Regions from separate parts of the Homo sapiens genome. Here all the other regions are linked to region 2. Evidence: promoter capture Hi-C in 16 types of primary human blood cells and fetal thymus (Javierre and others, 2016). All regions are on one chromosome and are shown on one strand. The core of a region is centred on a gene start or on the middle of the fragment in contact, and the rest is flanking DNA. Distances in the headings are between cores, read along the strand shown. Region 1 has its middle 12 kb from the start of CRP. Region 2 holds the start of OR10J5 (olfactory receptor family 10 subfamily J member 5). Region 3 has its middle 32 kb from the start of CRP.

Region 1 (2,731 bases), core at 69-2,568, 170 kb after region 2:
TCGCCATGTTGCCCAGGCTGGTCTCGAACTCCTGGCCTCAAGTGATCTGCCTGCTTTGGCCTCCCAAAGTGCTGGGATTACAGGCATGAGCCACCACACCCGGCCAGATCCTGCTCCTCTTACCCCCTGTAGGGCCGATGTGGTCAGATCACAGTATCTTCCTTTCCTTTTCCATTTCCTGTTCTTTTGAGGTAGAATAAGGCCTTTTAAGTGGATTTTGATCCTCCATGCGTTTCTGATGTCCTCCTAAAAATCTGAATGAGAGTTTTCTGAGTACATGCCAAATTCTGAAGCTTCTTTACCCTCTCACTGACTCTTCTGTCAGTGTCTGAATCAACCTATTTCCTGTAGCCACAACATTCTAGATATAGGCCTTTCAAATTCTCCCCTTATGCTTTAACTTTGTGATAATTTCTACGATTTTTTTTCAGTCCAAGCTGACGCATTCTCCCCATACAATCAGGTGTCCCTTCTTCATTATCTACCCATTGATGGATCCCTTCACCATACTGAGGCTCTGACCCAGAGCCTGGGTAATTGAAATCATGATCACCAGCAATAATATTAGTCATAAAGCATAGATAACATGCATTAAGCACTAGCTTGTGCAGTGAAATGGGCCCTATACTATCCCCCATTTAAAAGACGAGGAAACCTGAAGAATACAGCATTTAAGTCATTTACCTAAGGTCACCCAGCCATTATAAGATGAAACCAGGACCTGAACTCAGTTAGTCTGGCTATCTTAACCCTTGAGGGTGAGATGGAGCAGGGACCCCACTTAGAAGCCTGCCAGCCCACATCCCTCACCCATGCACGGAAATAAAGGAAAATCTTGAGCTCCTTCAAGGGAAATTCCAGGTACCTAGCTAGCCCGGAGAATAAATAAGCCACCTGATAAGCAAGAAGGTAATAGTAGCTTAAAGCAATAGCCAAGGAAATTAGAATCATAGGATGTTTGGTTCCCCTACAGAAACTAAAAATAACATCCTAATATATGTTCCTGAGTTGTTTTTCAGAAACCCGACCCCTGACCTAATGCCATTATCTGAGATCTCTGTGCCAGTGGATGGAAAATGCTATCTTCCTCAGATGACCTCAGATAGTGGGGAACTGAGGACTGAACACTGACTGCTGTTCTTTGTTCTAAATTTCTTCCTGAGAGGCCTGAAGAAGGTCATGCCCATAGGCCAGAGCTCAATATTTCTGCTGATCCCAAGTTTTTAGACAAATCTTAACCAATCACATATCAGAAAATTTTTGAATCCACCTATGATCTTTGGCCCTCCCAACTTGAGATGCCCCCCTTTATAGGCCAAACCACTGTATGGCCTCCATGTGTTGATTTATGACTTTGCCTGTAATCTCTGCCTCCCTGCCTTTAAAAACCCTTCCATGTAAGTCATCAGGATGTTTGGGTCTCAGATTCTCCTTGTTTGGCATCTTGCAATAAAGACTTCACTTTCTCTCACTGCAAATCCTGTTGTCAGCATTTGGCTTTGCTGCACCAAATGGGCAGACCCAAGTTCGGTTGAGTAACAGGGGTGGAGAGGAAAGGTAGGCTTTAAGAAACTGTAAATGAGGCATATAAATGTACAGATTATGCCTTCAAAGTCCCTCTTTGACCCCAAACATGAGTAAAGCATAGAGAGGAACAGGATCTATTTCTGACTTTCAGACCCAGGCATCAACAATACAAAGGCCAAAGATTCCATGTATCAGGACTCAGTTTGTTTTGAAATGAGCCTGCCCCAGCTCCTGCAGAACTTCACAGCTTTTAGAGTTGGAGCTCCAGGACAAGTCTGCCCTGATTCTAAAAGTAAACCCATCCCTGATGAGGAAAGACTCTTTGTGCTATCTGTGAGAGACTGCCCGCTACACTGTTATTCCTCTTACAAGTCTGAAGTCCTGCCCAGGCTCCACCCTGGCTGTTTGCAGGTGAGAATCTCTCCATAGAGGAGCTTCCCTCTCTCTTCATGGTACTCTTAGAGTTTTGAGGAAACAATATCACCTCTTTGCCTGTTTAGAATAAACTGAGAAATAAATACTTGAATAAAAATCACATCAGCCTTGTGGCTAGCAATGCTTGATTTGAAGGACCCAGCTCAGATCTCAAGTGAACATGGCCTTCCTAAAACATTTTCCCCTGAAGATCTACGCTTCAGGACAGAACTGCAATGAGAATCTCCACTTGCTTCATACCTAGTGAAGAGGGAAAAGTCCCAGAGCCCCAGAGATAGATGTCATGCGTAGGTGACCTTGGACCTCTTTGGTGGAAACCAATGGATATCAGACATGGGACATGCCACTAGTCTCAAGGAGAGAAGCCAGACAGAGGAAAGGAAAGCTTCCCAGACTATCGCCCTCTCCAAAAGAACTCAAGACCTGATCTTGTCTGATGCTGCTGGTATTGTTAACTGTGTCTTCCCCAGCATTCTGAGTCATCCTTTTAAGAGAGACGTAAAGACACAAATACGAAAAAGTGCACCTGGGAGAGTCTGTGACAATCAGAAATTGGTGGAGGTGGGGAGTGTGTTAGTCTGTTTTGCATTGCCATAAAGGAATACCTGAGGCTGGGTAATTTATAAAGACAAGGGGCTTAATTGGCTTCAGTCTTCAGGCTGTACAGGAAGCATAGTGCTGGCATCTGCTTCTAACAAGGGCCTCAGAAAGCTTACAATCATGGTGGAAGGCGAAGGGGTGTCAGTGTGTCACATGGCGAGAGCAGGGA
Region 2 (2,746 bases), core at 147-2,646:
GACTGTCACATGGAATATTATTTGACTCCTGAGAATGAAAGCTTTCTTTTTTATGTAAGCAGAGAGAAATAAAGGTTGGTGTCTCTGCGGCTTATTTCCCTAACACCGCTGCCACCTATGTTCCCACTGTCTCTACTCCACATCCCCTAACCAGACAAGCTCAAAGATTTGACTGTCAGAGAGTTCAGGTAAAATGGGAGCCAAAAAGCTTTCAAAACTGAAATCTTCAAGCACAGAAACAAGTAGTCTTAATCCAGCTTGGAGTGATTCTTGTATCTGGTAACAAAATTCACCAGAGCAGAAATCCTGCTTTCTGCCATGCCTAGAACACTAAACAGACAAGCATTTCTATTCTTTGACAGTATTCTCAACAAATATTATATTTGATGAATTTGTGTATTGTGGCATGTTTGTGAGTAGACACACTACACTGGGCTAATGGTCTCTTAATGAAATAATCCAATCCATTAAGAAATATTTCTGCCCACAACTCTGCATAGGGCATCCTTTACCTCCTTGTTTCTCAGACTGTAAACAACAGGGTTCAGCAAGGGAGTGATGATGGTGTACGTCACTGAGAGAACAAGGTCTTTTTCTATTGAACTTTCTGACTTCGGCTTGAGGTAGGCAATGGAGGCACAGCCACAGTGGACAATAACCACAGTGAGGTGGGAGACACAGGTGGCAAAGGTCTTCTTCCGGCCCTCAGCTGAGGCAATTTGAAGGATGGAAGAGATGACAAGGACATAGGAGATAAATATCAGGCCTATGGGCACAAAAATCACAAATGAACTTACACCATAATTTATTATCTCATTGATAGTGGTATCAATGCAAGAAAGTTTCATGACTGGGTAAATGTCACAAAAGAAGTGGTCTACCACTGTGCCACAGAACGGCAAATTGAACATGGCTGTCACATGGAGAACTGCCATAGTCAGACCAATGCCAAAGGACCCACACACCAGCTGGGCACATAGTCCCTTGCTCATGATGACAGTGTATCTCAGGGGTCTGCAGATGGCCACATAGCGGTCATACCCCATTGCAGTAAGCAGGAAGCAATTATTAGTGGCCAAGATAACAAAAAAGAACATTTGTGTAGCACAGCCTGCCAAGGAGATAGGTTGGTTATGAAAAATGAGGCTCAAAAGCATTCGTGGCACAATGACCAGTGTGTACACCGTCTCTGAACTAGCCAGCATGCTTAGGAAGAAATACATGGGAGTGTGGAGATGATGGTCAATGCAGATGATAGTCACAATGATGATGTTAGCAACCAGAGTTAAAATGTAGACAGTTAGGAAAACCACAAAGAGGGTTATCTGATGCTTTCCAAAGCTAGAAAATCCCAAGAAAATGAATTCTGACACTTCTGTGAAGTTCTTTCTCTTCATTCTGCTATATCAGTGTCTGAAAGCAACAAATGGAGTCAACAAGGAGTAAATTCTCAACAGCAATTGGACTTTAAAACAAAGAAAAATGATAATTGTACTGAGACTGAATCCAATTTCCTTCTTTTTGATCATGATGCTCATGCAGGGTCCTTGCACATGAAGAGAGAAGCCTACTTGTGCCTCTTTGGGGCTTTATACATATGAACATTGTCACTGTGGAGCAAATTACTTTCTGCGCATGGAGAGGGCTTCTGCATGCCTGCTCACCTCACAGACATTATAGTGATGTTAGGAAGGGAAAAAGACAGCAAGGAGAAAGCCATGCTCTATATTTCAACCAATAATAATATCCACTCTTTAAACCCTCTTAACAAGGAGGACTCCAGTGAAGCCCATGTCAAGAAAACCATAAAGATGAAAGTTTTGCAAAAAAAAAAAAAAAAGATATAGCAGTTTGAAATATTTGAAGACGGAAAACTTTGAGACGTGGTCACTGGATTTCATAACAGGGTCACCAAGGAGCTTTTACACAGTGTTTCAGTTGAATTATGAATATAGAAACTTGATTTTGGAGAGGTAATGTGGTCCAAATATGTTATTGTACTCTCAAAACAGAACAACTACAACACAAATTCTGCCATTATCTCTCTACTAAAATTGATCACTCAAGTCCCATCAAAGAAATCTTTTTTTTTTTTTTTTTTTGCTGATTCTAGTAGGCCTTTTGAGTGAAGTCAGGAAGAGAGAGCTGTGACAGAAAACGTTGTGTAGTTGCCACTGTCATTATAAAGGACTGGGACAACTTGAGGTGTAGAAGAGACTCCGGAGTTGAGAGAGAAATCTGCAGCTATCTGTAGCCCAACTGGCTTAACTATTTTTAAAAATATGGTGAACATACAATTTTGAGAAGCAGAGACACTAATCCCTTTTGTCAAAAAGCAAGCATGTATAAACTGTATGGAGAGCATATATCTGATCCTATGGTTCTCTTTAGTGACCATCTTATTGTTCTCCCTTTATTTTCAGAAGTATTAAAACAGGCTTTCTTTCCCACTCTCCATAATTCCCTGCAAGTTGGCTTTGGCATGTTCATGCCCATGAGATTGTTTGCTCAAATGTCACCAAAGAATTCTCCATTGCTAAGGCCACTGGACTTTGTTTTATCTCCTTTTTCTCATCTTTCTCTGTTTAAACACTTCGAACTCCTACCTCATGGAAACATTCTCTGACCTTGGTTTCCATGAAACCACACTGTTTTTCTCTCTTCCCAGCACTCATTTCGTTACCTTCCATGAATCTGCTCATTCTCCCTCTACCATAATTACGTATGCTCTTCTCTGGTACATCCT
Region 3 (2,700 bases), core at 174-2,673, 210 kb after region 2:
CGTGCGCCTATAGTCCCAGCTCTTTGGGAGGCTGAAGCAAAAGAATCGCTTGAATCCGGGAGGCAGAAGTTGCAGTGAGCTGAGATTGTGCCACTGCACTCCAGCCTGGGTGACAGGCTTTCTCGGGAAAGCCTGAGAAACAGTCACAGCCAAGAGAGACTTAAGGAAACTTGACAACTACATGTAATGTGGTATGCTGAATGTCATTCTGGAACAGAAAAGGGATACTAAGTAAAAACTAAGGAAATCTTAATAAACTACAGACTTTAATTCATAACATTGTATCAGTTTTGATTCACTCACTGTAACAAATGTACCATACTAAAGTAAAATGTTCAGGAGAGGTGAAATTGTCAGAAGGAGGGGCTGAGGGGGTATGTGGGAAATCTCTGTACTAAGTTCTCAATTTTTGTGTAAATCTAAAACTGTTCTAAAACATAAAATCTATTATAAAAATAGTGTGAATAAAAATAAATGGAGCTTAACAATCAATATCATTATTTTATTACATTTATTGAACTGGGAAAAATTTTACCTTGAGATTCAACGATAATTTATGGGAGCATGTTAAATGATGTCATGGAGATCCAATCAGTAAAATGACCCAGTTTTCTCCATAAATTTCAAGGAAAATAAGTGACAAATGGGGAGTAAATTAAAGGTGATTTAGGAGACATATAAACCTATGAAATGTGAGGACCTTTTTTGGACCCTGATTTAGAGAAGTAAAATTCCCTGTCTCACTTTACTCAGTGTCTCACTTGTGCTTCCTGGGTTCTCAGGCCAAATAAACTGTCTGGCGGGGCACAGTGGCTCATGCCTGTAATCTCAGCACTTTCCGAGGTGGAGGCGGGCGGATCACCTGAGGTCAGGAGTTCGAGACCAGCCTGACCAATATGATGAAACCCCATCTCTACTAAAAATACAAAAATTAGCTGGGAGTGGTGGCTTGCACCTGTAATCCCAGCTACTCAGGAGGCTGAAACAGGAGAATTGCTTGAACCTGGGAGGCAGAGGTTGCAGTGAGCCAAGATCGCACCATTGCACTCCAGCCTGGGCAACAAGAGTGAAACTCCATCTCAAAATAAATAAATAAATAAATAATAAAATAAATTAAAATAAACTGTCTGTACCCAAGCCCATGTCTCAGGGCCTACTTTTGTAGAAACTCAAAGAAGGACATTCATCATTAAGAAATTGGTTAAATAAATTATGGCATAACATATAATAACTTACTATACAGTAATTTTAAATAGTGAATTAGATCTACATGTGTTGACATGGAAAGATCTCAAGACACTTTCTAAAACGATTCTTTTCTATAAATGAATTAAAATAATACATGCATATGCACTAGTATGTAAATAATCATTTTTCTAGAAGTTTACTTCGAAAATTAACAGTGATTACTTCTGAGCAGTGGAAATTCTCTACACCAAATGTATTGTGCTGGCAAGCTGGCTCACTGATTTAAAAAAAAGAAAAGGTCCTGATTTATAGCATTTACTGATTTCCATGGTGTAAGTGCTCTATACCACTATGTCTAATTTCAACCCACAGATGATTTAACAGGCTCCTAATAATTACTGAATAACAATTCATTCTTGTGAGCCCATATGGGTCACCTTCAATACACTACTGGGTGAAAATGTGCATTAATATTATAATTTCGTATGCTAGTTGAGTTTATTTGAATTATACTTTTAAATAGATTATACTTAAAAATAAAAGAAGAAAACTGTTGAACACATGCTAAGATTTCCATTTCTAGTTCTTGGTTACACATAGCCTTGGAAATAAGCCCAGGCCCATATTCCCCGGCCACAAAGGAAATCAGTTAGCAGAGATTAAGATAAAGAAAATGTGCCTTACTATTCTCTTCCTTTCTGAGCTTTCGTTAGAACCCATGTCTATGAACCAAAATAAAAGGAGAAGAAGAAAGGTCATCATGCAAGGGAGGTTCTTATGGGTATTTCCTTGTGCTCTTCAGTTTATTAAGAAGGTGAGATCATAAACAGGAAGAGAAATGAAGAGCACTGGGAGAGGTAGACAGGGACATTACAATTTATACGTGCATTTTTGTGACCCCAATCATTTTTGAAAACTATCTCAGAGCCATTTTCTTTTAAAATGGCTACTACTGCCAGATAATAAATCAGGTAATTCTTGAATTTGCCCTAACCCTCTTATAATCATCAAAAGCCTGTCTTCCTCCTGATTACAAAAAGATTCAGTAGGAAAGAGCATTTAATTAGAAATCAAGAAACCTGCATTATCATCCTCACACAGGTACTGTTTTGCTGCAAAAGCCTCAGCAAGTCACTTAACCTCTCTGAGCCTCTGTTGTCTTCTATAAAACAAGAGCTTTCAATTATAAGGTTTCTGAGGACTTCTTTGGTTTTAAAAATCCTATAATTTTCTTATTTCTACTGGTCAAACCCTCTTAATGAAGCTCATTCCTCTCAAGAACTTGCTTAGATCCCCTGAAGTGTTCCTGGATAGAAAGAGAGCAGACAGAGCCAGCGCCTCCGTGTAGACAGCACTGCTATAGTGCCAGGACCTGAGACAAATAGGAGGGGCATCCCCAGGAGGCAACATGGGGACCTTGCTCTGGACCCCAGTGCCACATCTGGGGTTTGGGAAATACTTCATCAGCACCCACCAGCCCAGGACACTAGGACTGAAGGCCCCACCACATGG

What was found. The method cuts DNA at HindIII sites, captures the fragments that hold promoters and counts their contacts. A CHiCAGO score of 5 or more calls a contact.
Region 1: a contact is called between a fragment that was not itself captured here and the fragment with the promoter of OR10J5 in region 2, in 1 of 17 cell types (neutrophils). The highest score is 5.8, in neutrophils.
Region 3: a fragment that was not itself captured here is called in contact with the fragment with the promoter of OR10J5 in region 2 in 1 of 17 cell types (neutrophils); the score reaches 5.6 in neutrophils.

Annotation. Positions count from the first base shown.
Region 1 is chr1:159,700,831-159,703,561 of GRCh38, forward strand. No RefSeq gene overlaps it. Among named protein-coding and RNA genes, the nearest start is that of CRP, 12 kb to the right of the region's middle. The HindIII fragment of the contact is 2,054 bases long and covers 292-2,345 here.
Region 2 is chr1:159,534,611-159,537,356 of GRCh38, forward strand. OR10J5 (olfactory receptor family 10 subfamily J member 5) reads right to left here and starts at 1,397. Exons shown (of 1, transcript NM_001004469.1): 1 at 468-1,397. The coding sequence starts at 1,397. The coding sequence ends at 468. The HindIII fragment of the contact is 5,281 bases long and covers 207-2,746 here.
Region 3 is chr1:159,745,011-159,747,710 of GRCh38, forward strand. No RefSeq gene overlaps it. Among named protein-coding and RNA genes, the nearest start is that of CRP, 32 kb to the left of the region's middle. The HindIII fragment of the contact is 6,050 bases long and covers 1-2,700 here.